Regions from separate parts of the Homo sapiens genome. Here region 1 is linked to region 2. The links are contacts of gene promoters, found by promoter capture Hi-C in blood cells and fetal thymus (Javierre and others, 2016). All regions are on one chromosome and are shown on one strand. Each heading gives the region's core, a stretch centred on a gene start or on the middle of the fragment in contact. The rest is flanking DNA. Distances are from core to core; before and after follow the strand shown.

Region 1 (7,011 bases), core at 2,750-5,249, 2.4 Mb after region 2:
TGATCTACAACAATTTTTAAATTATATAAATTGGGCTTTAAAATTAAAAACTGTAACATTATTAAGAAAGCGAAAAGTCTACAGAATGGGAGAAAATATTTGCACATCACGTATCTAATAAGAGTTTAGTCTCCTGAATATATATTAAAAAACCCGATTTTAAAATGGACAAATGCTTTGGGAGGCTGAGGCAGGAGGATCACTCAAGGCCAGGAATTCAAGACCAGCCTGGGCAACATATGGAGCCCTTATCTCTACACACACACGCGCACGCACACACACACACACACACACACACACACACACACACACAAATCTTTTTTTTTTTTTCTCAATTAGCCAGAGTCATGACGGGTGTGCTGAAGAGAGACCACTGGCCTTGTGGGATTGGCTGTATGCGAGAGTCCACAGGAGAGGCTAAGAATATTGTATACAAAGATTTTTTTATGTTCTTGAGCAAATCCCTAAAAATGTAGCATATAGAAAGTATACAGAACAGATTACAAATGAGACACTGGCTATGGTTAAAGCAGAACCAGATGTTAAAAAATTAGAAGACCAGCCGGGCGCAGTGGCTCACTCCTGTAATCCCAGCACATTGGGAGGCCAAGGCAGGCGGATCACCTGAGGTCAGGAGTTTGAGACCAGCCTGGCCAACATGCCGAAACCCTGTCTCTACTAAAAATACAAAAATTAGCCGGGCATGGTGGTGCATGCCTGTAGTCCTGGCTACTTGGGAGGCTGAGGCAGGAGAATCGCTTGAACCCAGGAGGTGGAGGTTGCAGTGAGCCGAGATCATGCTACTGCACTTCAGCCTGGGCAACAGAGTGAGACTCTGTCTCAAAAATTAATTAATTAATTAATTAAATAAAAATAAAAAATCAGAAGACCAACTTCAAGGTGGTCAAATAGAAGAGGCGATTCTGCAGGCTAAAAATGAACTAAGTCTGGCAAGAAAAATGATGCAGTGGAAACCATGGGAGAGACTCCTGCCAATCAGTGGAAATGGCCAATATAATTATTAAATGACTTTGGTAGGTTGATGGGAAACTGATGTAATTAAATATTCTGTTATATTAAGAGTGTGGGCCAGGTGCAGTGGCTCACACCTGTAATCCCAGCACTTTGGGAGGCAAGGCAGAAGGATCATTTGAGGTCAGGAGTTTGAGACCATCCTGGCCAACATGGTGAAACCCCATCTCTACTAAAAATACAAAAATTAGCCAGGCATGGTGGCACGCACCTGTAATCCCAGCTACTCAGGAGGCTGTGGCGGGAGAATCGCTTGAACCCGGGAGGCAGAGGTTGCAGCGAGCCGAGATCGTGCCATTGCACTCCAGCCTGGGCGACAGAGCAAGACTCCATCTCAAAAAAAAAAAAAAAAAAAAAAGGCAAAGAACCCTTGTGTACTGTTGGTGGGACTGTAAATTGGTACAGCCATATGTAAAACAGTATAGAGGTTCCTCAAAAAATTCAAAATAGAACTAACGTGATCCAGCAGTCCCACTTCTGGATAGATAGCCAAAAGAATTGAAAACAGGGTCTGTCTCTAAGAGATATTTGCACACCCATGTTCATATCAGCATTATTTACAACAGCCAAGAGGTGGAAACAACCAAAATGTCCATTGACAGACGAATGGTTAAACAAAATGTAGTATATACATGCAACAGAGTATTATTCAGCCTTAAAAGAGAAGGAAATCCTGTCACATGCTATAACATGGATGAACCTTGAGAACATTATGTTAAATGACATAAGCCAGTCACAAAAAGACAACTACTACTGTTTGATTCCATTTATATGAGATGCTTAGTGAAAATCATAGAGACAGAAAGTAGAATGGTTACCAAAAGCCGTGGGTAGGGGGAAAGGAGTTGTTTAATGAGTATGAAGTTCCCATTTCGCAAGATGAAAAAGTTCTGGAGATCTATTTTACAACAATGTTAATATATTTAACATTACAGAAGTGTACACTTCAAAATGGTTAAGATGATACATTTTGTGTTATATGTTTTTTACCCACAATTAAAAACGCATTAAAATTTTTTTTTAAATGAGACAGGGTGACACTATGTTTGCCCAGGCTGATCTCAAACTCCTGGCCTCAAGAGATCCTCCCATCTCAGCGTCCTAAAGCGTCTGGATTACTGGTGTGAGCCACTGCATTTGGCCACCCTAAAATATTTTTAAAAGGAAAAACAAACAAAAAAAACTAGCCCATAGTTCTAGACTTTCTCTTTGCCTCACATTAATTTACTCCCACTACTTCAATAAAAATAACAGGGGGAGCTAAGAGCTTGTACAGACTTTTCTCTAAAGAAGATATACAAATGGCCAACAAACACATTAAAACATGCTCAACATCATTAGTCATTAGGGAAATGCAAATCAAAACCACAATGAGTCTCAGCTACTCCAGAGGCTGAGACAGGAGGATGCTGGAGGCCAAGAGTTCCAGACCAACAGGATCTCACTTTGAGCAACAAAGCGAGACCCTGTCCCTACAATAAATTTTTAAAAAATTAAAAAAATAACAAGTGTTGGCCATGATTTTGATAAAGTGCGGTCCTCATACATTGCCGGTGGGAATGTAAAATGGTTCAGCTGCTTTGGAATACAGTTTCAGTTTCTCCCTGAGTTGAGAATAGAACTACTATATGACCCAGCAATTTCACTCTTAGGTATATACCTAAAATAATTTAAAACAAGTACTCAAACATAGAAGAACTATTTACAGTAGTTAAAAGGCAGAAACAACCCAAATGTCTATTTATGGAGGAATGGATAAACAAACTGCAGTCTATATCTACACTAGAATATTGAGCCATAAAAGCAGTGAAGTACTGATACATGCTACGACTCAAAAGATTAGAAGACAGATACAAAAGGTCAATATTGTATGATTCCATTTTTATGAAGTAGGTACATCCACTGAGACAGAACACAGATTGGTGGTTGCCAGGCCTGGTCGAAATGGGGAAGGGGCAGCAACTGCTTTAACAGGGTACAGGGTTTTCTTTTAGGATGATGAAAATGTTTTGGAACTGTATCGATAGAGATGGTGGTTGTACAGCATTGTGAATGTACTAAATGCCACTGAATTGTTCACTTTAAAATGACTAGTTATGTCAATTTCACCTCAACAAAAAAATGACACACAGTACTCAGATTTTAAAAAGCATCATTTCACCAAGATTCCATGAATTAATGTGAGATGATCAAAGAGGATTCAGTAGAATCGTTCAACTTCGAATGTAAAACAGTCCTAAACTCAAACCTTTGTGACACTAAAGTGGGGAGATGGTATGTGATAGTTTTAGATAGTAAAAATTATTCTTGTTTACTTGGTCTCGAACTCGAACTTTTTTGAGGCGGAGTCTCTCTCTGTCGCCTGGGCTGCAGTGCAGTGGTGCGATCTGGACTCATTGCAACCTCCGCCTCTTGGGCTCAAGCGATTGTCGTGCCTCAGCCTCCCTAGTAACTGGGACTACAGTCGCCCCCCACCACGCCTGGCTATTTTACCTATTTTTGGCTATTTTACCTATTTTTATTAGAGACGGAGTTTCGCCATGTTGGCCAGGCTGGTCTCGAACTCCTGACCTAAGATGATCCGCCCGCCTCGGCCTCCCAAAGTGCTGGGATTACAGGCGTGAGCCACCGCGCCCGGCCTTGCCCTCCTATTTTGGTACCGTCAGATGCAAAGTGCCTGGGACAGAAGTGGGGCTCCGCTGGCGCCCAGCTCCAAAACCCAGGCAGCGTGGAAAAGACTAGACAGGGAAGGGGTTAGCCCTCAGAATTACACGCGGGTTTGCCTTACCAGACTACCACCACTGGCACAACCTCAGACCCACACCCAACCGACTTTACCTCCCAGGCCCTGATTAATCTCGCCCGGAAGTACCGCCCACCCATGCTCACTTCCGCTATCCCGTACTTCTGCTCATCTCGCGAGAACTGAAAGCGCCTATGTGACCTGCGCTAAGCGGAAGTTGGCCCTCTTTTCCGTGGCGCCTCGGAGGCGTTCAGCTGCTTCAAGATGAAGGTAGGTGATGGTGGCGAGTGTTAGACTGGGTTTGGGGAACGTGAATCGAGTCCCAGAACGCGGCATTGCCTCAGTTCCAGCACTCCAGGATCCTGGCTTTAGGTGGAGAAGGGTCTCAAGTAGGAGAAGGCTCGCCTTTCTGGGGCATGGAGCTTTTTGGCCGAACGGATGGCAGGCGATTGCGGCTGGAGCCGCGGCGGGCCGGGAGCGCCATGGTGGCGTCCCCGCGCCCAGCCGGGACGGATGCGGCGTGTTGCCCAGTTTGCGGCAGGCCTGTGGTGCGGCTCTTGACCCCGGCTTTCTTGCTTCGGGAGGGTGAACGGCTGCGGAGTGCCCTCGCCCCCAGAGTCATTCCGCGGGGCTTGAGGGGAAAACGTCCTGCTGAGTGCGGCGCTTCTTGACTGCTACTCTGCTTTCACGTGCTTTTAGTGAGTACAGTCGGCATCTTATATTTCCTGCTTGTGTGGAGGCAACATGAAAGGCTTTTTGCAGTGGAATTAACTTTGTAGATGGCTCTACAATTACCTGTATAGATAGTTTCGTAAACTATTTCCCCCCTTTTAATCCTTAGCTGAACATCTCCTTCCCAGCCACTGGCTGCCAGAAACTCATTGAAGTGGACGATGAACGCAAACTTCGTACTTTCTATGAGAAGCGTATGGCCACAGAAGTTGCTGCTGACGCTCTGGGTGAAGAATGGAAGGTAAAAGTTGACAAATTGTTGCAGGTATTTAAGTCAGAGACGGTAAACGCCATTGGTAACTGGTATTTGGAATGGGGTTCAGACTCCGGGTTCTGGCTTCTGACCTTTGGTAAGTTGCTTCCGAATGCCACTTTATAAAGTTAGAGGTATTACCTTGGAGGGGGGGACGTAGAGTAAGCCATAAAATATACGTAAAGTTTACATCAACATAATTCTTGCCCTGCATCATGCATTTGGCAATATGTCACATAGCTGTCCTCATAATCCCCAAAGTGCCAAAAAGGGTTGTATCTGATTTGTTTGTTGCTGTTTGATATTTTATCTTCTTAGTGCTGTTATCTCTAATAAAACATCGGTTAGAAATGCGACTTGAAAGACATTTGATAATTGAACTTGACAAGTTGGGAATATAGACAAAACTCACTGAACAGAGAAAACGTGCTTAAGTTCAAATTGGTTTTCATAATTATACTTTCTCATATAGGTGTGTTCACAGAGGTCACAATCCTGTACTGTATAATTTTGGAATAGAAATAGTAAATGTGTCATTCATTGTATGCTCTTGCAGGGTTATGTGGTCCGAATCAGTGGTGGGAACGACAAACAAGGTTTCCCCATGAAGCAGGGTGTCTTGACCCATGGCCGTGTCCGCCTGCTACTGAGTAAGGGGCATTCCTGTTACAGACCAAGGAGAACTGGAGAAAGAAAGAGAAAATCAGTTCGTGGTTGCATTGTGGATGCAAATCTGAGCGTTCTCAACTTGGTTATTGTAAAAAAAGGTGAGGGTTACTTGTGTTCAATTTTCGTTGAAATTGATTTAAAGCCAGTTGTCCAAATGCTTATTCATTTGCAGTATCCAGACTTACAGACCAATGGATTTGTTTCTCTACCATCAATTCAACATTAAACATTCTGATTTAGGATTCTTAAGGAAGTTGTTGAATTAAAATCTCTTCAACTGTTTCTTCTAAGGAGAGAAGGATATTCCTGGACTGACTGATACTACAGTGCCTCGCCGCCTGGGCCCCAAAAGAGCTAGCAGAATCCGCAAACTTTTCAATCTCTCTAAAGAAGATGATGTCCGCCAGTATGTTGTAAGAAAGCCCTTAAATAAAGAAGGTAGGAGGGATTATGCAATTAGGGCTTGCTTAATTTTGGTAATTTGTCTATCATTTTGTGTGCATATCAGAAGATAAATATGTGCCTTTGGAAGGCCTTAGCACTATTCACTTGGAGTTTTTACAGAAAATATTTGGGGGTGGCCAGCATACCCAGTTGGTGTTAATCCTTGCTTATTATATCCAGTGCCTTGTAGAGTGCAGTAATTTCGTTGAAAATCTGCTTGTGAATCTTTGATGTATACATTATCCAAAAATAACCTGACTTTAAGGTCATTGCTATCTGGTTTAGGAGTCACATGTTTGAGAATTCTGGGACTATTAGCACCACACACTTTGTAATTTTATATCAGATGTTCTAAATTATTAATATTTTTTAAGAGATGAGGTCACACTGTTGCCCAGGCTGGTCTTGAACCCTTGAGCTCAAGTGATGCTCCCACTTTGGCTTCCCAAAGTGCTGGGATTATGGGCGTGAGCCACCACACCCAGCCCAAAATTATTTTTTGGCTTACAAAAGAAGTTGCTTTAAACTTCTGTTTCATCTGTAGGATATGGATAACAATAGTTAAGAGTTGTGAGAATTAGAAGTTAGAGACCTTACTCAGAATACTAGGGAGCAGGTGTTAGGGATTTTGGAGCTTTACCTTTTAAGAACTTTTGTCCATATAGTAGACAACATACTCACCAGTGAGGACCTCAAATAGCAATATTTCTGTGGTGAAATTTGGGGATATTTATGTTAAATAAACAGCATGTCAGTCAAGGTTGGGTTTTCCTGACAAAATTTGAAAGAATTTCTCTGGATTTTGGTTTTCAGGACTGGTGTGACTTAACATACATGGCATAGATAGTATACGTCTGTTAAGTCAGTAATTACACTTACTTGAGCACAGGTACTGTTCAAGGTGCTGAGAATACAGTATAGACAAATTCCTACCCTTATGAAGCTGATGTTGCAAAAAAAAAAAAAAAAGCAATTGACAAATAGGTGGCAGTTGCCCATAATCATAGCCCTGGAAATAATCCGTATAATACAAGCGTGGTCTGGTTGATGGGTATTTTTAGATGGTTCTTATGTCTATAGTAGGAGGCTTAACATTTTAGCAGAATCTGAACATCTGAGCATTTAGCCTAAGGCAGTT
Region 2 (6,409 bases), core at 3,125-5,624:
GTATTTTTTGTAGAAATGGGGTTTCACCATGTTGCCCAGGCTGGTCTTGAACTTCTGAGCTCAGGTAATCTGCCCAGCTGGGCCTCCCAAAGTGTTGGGATTACAGGCATGAGCCACCGCGCCTGGCCAAGTCTTATTTTTAATCTCCCAGAATGAAAGCTGGGAGGCTGCCCAGGGGAGCCATGGTACACTGCAGGAGCCCTCCAGAATGCCCTGTATCTGGGTGCCAAAGACTGGTTTGGCCCTCTGTCAGGAATACCACCTGCCCTTGGCTGATGCTGGAGGACAATGTCTCCCTGAGGTCCTCTCAGACAATGGCAGTGTTAATCCCATAGCCTCTGGCTCCTGCTGCCTCTCTCCATGGCTACCCCCCAGGTAATATCCTCACTCCCTGCCTGGACCATCTCTCACTGCAGTGAACCACAAAAAAGATTGCTTGAATTACTCTCACTCCAGGTGGCTTCCTCCCTCCCTCAACCTGCCACCCACTCTGCTCCTACAGCAAAGAGGCCCCTCAGCATCCCAGCCTCTGGCCCCCTAACCAGCAGTATCTGGGAGGAAGGAATCCTACACTCACCCTCCTTGGCTCCAAGGAGTCACTCGTGGCCCCTTATCGCCCACTTTGAAATGATCCACCAGTATCATCATCTTTTTGGTTTTCCAGGTCAAAAGCAGAAATCATCCTGTTCTTCTTCCTGCACTCCCCACATCTTATCCATCTCTGTGTTCTACCTGCAAATTCTATCCCCAATCTGATTATTCCTCACCACCTCCATGGCTCCCACCCTAGACTTCAGCCCCAGCACCAAGACTTCTGGCCTGATCTCTTAGCTCTTCCCCTGCCCACAGGCTATTCTGTATACAACAGCCAGAGTAATCATTTTAAAATGTAAATCAAATGCTGCCTCCCACTCTTAACCCTTCAACAGTTTCCAAAACATTTAAAATCAAAATTCTTGATCGCGGTCTACAAGGATGGCCTTATGAGCTGCATCCACCCAATTCTCACTGTGCATCCGTGATTTCCATTCCTACCACACTGAGCTCACTTCTGCGACATCTTGGTTTTCGCTCTCCTACCCCCATCTCTCTCCTCAGGTCTTCACTTGGATCTTTACCCTTTATCCCTATTTTCACTATCAGCTTAAGTCCATTCAGGCTGCTATAACAAAATATCTTAGGACTGGGTGGCTTATAAACAGCAGAAATTTCTCATAGTCTGGAGGCTTAGCAAGTTCAAGGTCACAGCAGATTCAGTGTCTGAGGAAGGCCCACGTTTTGGCTCATAGATGGTGTCCTCTCACTTAGTAGAGGGAATAAGGCAGCTCTCTGGGGCCTCTTTTGTAAGGGCACTGCTTCCATTCATGAGGGCTCCACCTTTATGACCCCAATCACGCCCAAAGGCCCCATCTTCTAATACCATCACATTGGCGATTAGGTTTCAACATACAGATTTTGGAGGCAGACTACTGCACAGCTTAAAATCCACCTCCCTAGGAGTCTTTTCTGACACCCCTCACCCAATGGAATCTTACTGCTGTTTCACTTTCATGTCAGTTGGTTTCCCACCCTGACTAGAATATAAACTTGAAGAAAATAAATAAAGGCCTCGCTTACTCAAAGCTGCATCCCCATTGTCTAGCAGGTATTCAATAAATATTTTTGAATAGGATTCCACCAGTAGATGGCTAGATTTGAAAGATATGCCAAATATACTGCCAATCCAAAACTCAGTGGAATCTTTCACTTGCATGAGTTAACTGCACCTCTAAAATTGAGAATGAATTTAAGATCCACCCCGTTAATATCTCTATTTTAAGAAGAGAGGTACTTGGGCTGACATTAAAGGAGTACCTGGAACTGGGCTGAGTGTGTTACATGTTACTGTATTTAAATCCAGCAACCTCTCAAAGGACCTGCCAGTGACACCAATGGGGTTCAGACACACATGTGCCTCCTATACCTATACCTGGGTGGTGTGCAGTGGGCACTGGAGGCAGCCTGCTTTCTGCATACCCTCTGCCTCCCTCTTCAAGATGGACATTCTATCAAGTGCTCATTTTAATTGTGCATTAGGTCACAAGAAAACAGGGCAGAGACCACACTTCAGATTTCAGAAATGCCTCACATCTAGTTGGTGGAATGCCAGGCTCTAGGCCCAATTCTGTCATTATCTAGGTCCAGCTGTGTAATTCTGGATACTTAGCTGACCTTTCTGGGCCTCAACTTTACACCCGCAAAACGGGTTTGTGTGGCTATATGGATGGTCTTGAAGGAACACTCCAGCCCCATCATTCTATAATTTGGGAATAGGATGTGGTTTTTATTAACCTATTTTGCTCTGGACACTGGCACCTCACATCTTCTATACAGAATGTTGCCTTAGAAGTCTGGGGAATACGGTGCTGGCATCATGGAATCTCTACGGCAAAGCTGTCATCTGTTCTAAATTAAAAGAGAAATCAGCAGGCAGTCCTAGCACCATATGTACCTCTTAATTTTATATCCAGAAGCTTGCCAAGACCAAAAATACACACTATTCAATATTTACATCAGGTCTCTGAGAATCCCATTGCCCATTCTGCACTTAAATGCACTGCATTAATTTGAAGGGAAACCCTGTGGCAGGGAGAATGCTAACCAGATTAAAGTAAGACTGTTTTAAACACCATTTCTCCATTTTTAATGGCGCTTGAAGTGTATTCCTGCAAGGATAAGGTGAAAAGTTGTGGCCTAATGATACCTAACACAATAACTTAATAATTTTTGGGGAAAAGATCATTCAAAATTAATCTCAGTTCCCCCACTTATAAGCACTACCACTTAATAAGCTTCTACCATGTGCAACATAGACAATATAATTCTAGCCCTCCTAGCAAATTCTGCAGTAAAATTCTCAGTTTATAGATGAGCACCTAAGAGAAGTCACATACTTCACACGAGTTTCATGAAAACCATTTCTGCCTTGTTTCCGCCAAACAATGAAGGCAGGGGAGAGGCCTTCTATAAATATTTGCTGGATGCAAGATTCTTTTCAAAATGACAAAATAAGTTTCATATATAAGTCTGGATGCAACACCCTTCACCATTCCTCTCATTCTAAGTGGCTCATTTAAACCTGCAAGGGCGTAATAAACTAATCTGGCTGATTACACACTGACCGCAGAAATTCGCCTTCTCCCGGGAAAACTGCAGTCGAGTGTAGGGAATCGAGATGCTTTGGAGAAGATCGCAGACCTTCCTATCCCATAGGCCAAAAATTTCTAAAAATCAAACAAGAACGCATTCTTAGCCAGTAATAAACTGCCTAGAAGAGGTCTTAAGTTTTATCATCAATTTTTCTTTACGTGCTGTAATTCTCTCTCGGAATACTAACCAGGAGAGAAGTGTTTAAAACCCCAGGGAAGCCAGCTGCTACTCTCAGAACTCGTGCCCTCCTCAGCACAAAGCTTCCCACCGCACAATGACCCCTTGTATCAAGGCCTCTCAGGGCCTAGGGCACAAGGAAATTGAACTCTAACTTGCAAGGCTGCAAAACAAAGCAGTTTCAAGCCAGAGGCCTCCAAACAGTGCAGCCCTAAAAACGGACGCCTGTACTCCTTTTCGAAGAAAGTCTCAGAATTCTTACAGTATTACGCTGCTGGGGAAAACTTCAGCGCGGAGAAGGCCTACGTTTGGAGGAAAAAGAAGCCGGAAGCATACAAAAGAGCAAGTAAGCAGTTCTCCCACGTGGGCCGCAGGCAACAAGCAGAGTCAGAGAGCGGAAGCTGGAGTCCCGCAAGGCACCAGGAGACGGTCACAGAAGCTGCAGGCGCCCGGACACCTCCTGACTCCAGCCGGGTGTCTTTCTTGGAAGAAGAGTGGTTCTCAGGAATGGTGGTGGCATGGGTGCAGCCTCTCCCATCCACGACCTCTCTCTCTAAAGGGGTGCCTACGCCCTACAGGGTGCGGGTGCAGATAAGCCAAAAGGTGGTGTGTGTGTGTGTGTGTGTGTGTGTGTGTGTGTGTGTGTGTGTGTGTGTGTTGGCGGTGCGGCAGGGGGATCATTTGCAAGCGTACCCTCTCCTCGCGCGGCAAGTGAGTCCCGAGTGCCGCGCCCCAGTCCCTCCCCGCGGCGGCAAGGGACGCACGGGCCGGGCGCATGGCCCCCGGAGGCGCGGTCCCCCGGCGCGGGGGCGAGAAGGCATCCGGCAGGGCGAACCGCTGCGGCTGGGAGGGCTCATCTCACCTTCACGGCGGTGGTGGTGGTGCCAGAGGCCATGTCTGCACGGGAAAGGAATCTGCAGTGGGCGAGCGCTCGGGACTAAGGGAACCAAGCGAGCCACAGAGCGGTGGCTGTGCCAACCTCACTGCGCGGGAGTGAGCAGTGCGGAGACCAGGGGCGGGCCTTGACTCCTCCTCTTCCTCCCCGGGACAGCTGGATTGGCTGCTTGTGTGGGATCTCCCCCGCCACCCCTTCCCCAAATCGAAGTTCCCGCGTTCCGCCCCTTTTGCAGACCTTTCCGGTTCTCCAGGTTTTTGTCGTTTTTTTTTTTTTTTTATCCCCAGTTATAACTAACGGATAATGATAATAATGGAGACCATTTATAGAGCGCTGTATTGTTCCAGACTGTGTGTTTTGCACTTTAATTGGCTTACTTAACTTTCGCTAAAACCTTATAAGGAAGAGCAGCACTCCCTGCTTGGCCCAATATTAGTGGCGTCGGAGGCCTCAGCTGCAAAATCTGGCCCGGCGGCATTCCAGAAGTTCTCGCGGGAGGGAGAATCCTCACCAAGGCGGGTACTGGCCGGCCACGGAGATTCTCTTAGGCAGCTAACGCGGGGCGGCCGCCGCGGCGGGGGCAAGATTTGTCCTTCCTGCGGCTGCGAACCCACCGCGGGTTTGCGTATTTCCCTTGATTCCTGGAGGACAGAGCTGGGATGGACTTGACCCAAGACTCAGGGATGACGAAAGGGAAATAAACAGAGTAACGTAGTACTGGATAATCTTTCTGATTTACGAACTATGATTTACTCATCTTCAATTTGAGGGGCCGCTTTTAGGGGGTTGAGACCTTGCACAACTCCCAGTCTGGCTCTACCTGGCTGGGGGCATCTTTAACCCGTTCTACGCCGGAGCGGCATCGAATACACCTGGATTCAGAATCCAAACTCAGGTCTCCGTCATTCAACACTAGCAGGACGCACACACACACACACCACGAGCCCTTTACAGGGATAATCCCTCATGCTTACAGCCCCCGTCCCTTCCCTACTGGGGTAATCCAATTTAACCTTCCTTGATGGATTAAGCGTTCTGAAACAAAATAATGGGTGGCAAGGATCTTAAGGGTGGACTCTGAGATGTAGAAATGCTGCAAATTAGCCTGGACGTGGGAGGAGGGCCGAGAAAGGGGATGCTTTCCTCTTTCCTTACAGCAGCAAAACACGGAAACAAAACACAAGTACAATTTAATTCAAAATACCACTGTGTGATGTTAGCCTGGATGCTGCTCATAGAACCTATTTACTTAAACAGTATAGACTTTCGTCCTCACATTACTATAAGCTTTAGGTCTAAATTTTCTCACAATGTAAAGTTTTCTTTCTTCTGTTACAATCATCTATTTCTTTTAAGTTATAAAATGCAATGGCAAAAGAAGAATGAAAGTAGAATCCGGGTGCTCCTTTGAGGAATAGGAGACAGGGAATCCTTCGCGGATGAAGACAATGTAGCTTTCTAGGGGCCTTTCTGCCGATTGCTCTATTGAGGAGCAGGAAGCCCACCACTCAGAAGTGAACCATTGAGGGCACAGGGATGCCCTAGGCTTTATGGCCGCTACCTAAGTAGGGGATCCTAGCCAACTTAAGTGACTTGATATGGTTAACAAGTCCAGTTTCTACTCAGCACTGCCTCTCTGCTAAAAGTTAGACGTTGTAACCAAGTTAGATCCTGTAAGCATAAAATACCCCTAGGCATAGGAGTTGGAAACTTGGCGAGGACCAGGCTGGACTTCTGGACTTTTCTACTATAACTTGCAGGTTAGGGCTCAAGCATTTGCTCTTGAAGATGTGATGTCTGTGAAGAGGAAATTCTTCTAAAGTTTGAATTTCATGTAAACTTACATGTGACAAAATATTATTCTACTTTTGATATTTTCTCAACCACTTAAGATTGTAAAAAAGCATTCTCAGTTCAAAGCTGTACAAAAACAGGTGGAGAGCTGGGTTTGGTCGAGGTCTTGGGCCATTGTTTTCCGCTCAGGGTAGTGCCTGAATCAGACGACCCCTTGCTACCCAGACTTGGATAACCCTTGGGCAGTCCTGTGGGACAGTGCTTTCTTTAGTGCAGTATCTTTGAAAAGGTAGGCAGTAATATTTTTGCCTTATTTCCAAATTTTGGGTCATGTTTTTTCTTAACAAGCCCTAA

Evidence for each region. Contacts are between HindIII fragments. The CHiCAGO score rates a contact against its expected background, and 5 or more counts as called.
Region 1: a contact is called between the fragment with the promoter of RPS6 here and the fragment with the promoter of MTAP in region 2, in 1 of 17 cell types (M2 macrophages). The highest score is 5.8, in M2 macrophages.

What each region holds. Positions count from the first base shown.
Region 1 is chr9:19,377,224-19,384,234 of GRCh38, reverse strand. RPS6 (ribosomal protein S6) reads left to right here and starts at 3,999. Exons shown (of 6, transcript NM_001010.3): 1 at 3,999-4,045; 2 at 4,617-4,748; 3 at 5,317-5,527; 4 at 5,721-5,867. The coding sequence starts at 4,040. It also overlaps the pseudogene NDUFA5P3. RefSeq lists an enhancer at 3,485-4,684. The HindIII fragment of the contact is 12,269 bases long and covers 1-7,011 here.
Region 2 is chr9:21,800,601-21,807,009 of GRCh38, reverse strand. MTAP (methylthioadenosine phosphorylase) reads right to left here and starts at 4,374. Exons shown (of 8, transcript NM_002451.4): 1 at 4,229-4,374. The coding sequence starts at 4,261. RefSeq lists a cis regulatory region at 1,800-1,801, enhancers at 1,729-1,873, 3,532-3,741, 4,236-4,864, 4,865-5,495 and a silencer at 4,032-4,191. The HindIII fragment of the contact is 2,099 bases long and covers 3,452-5,550 here.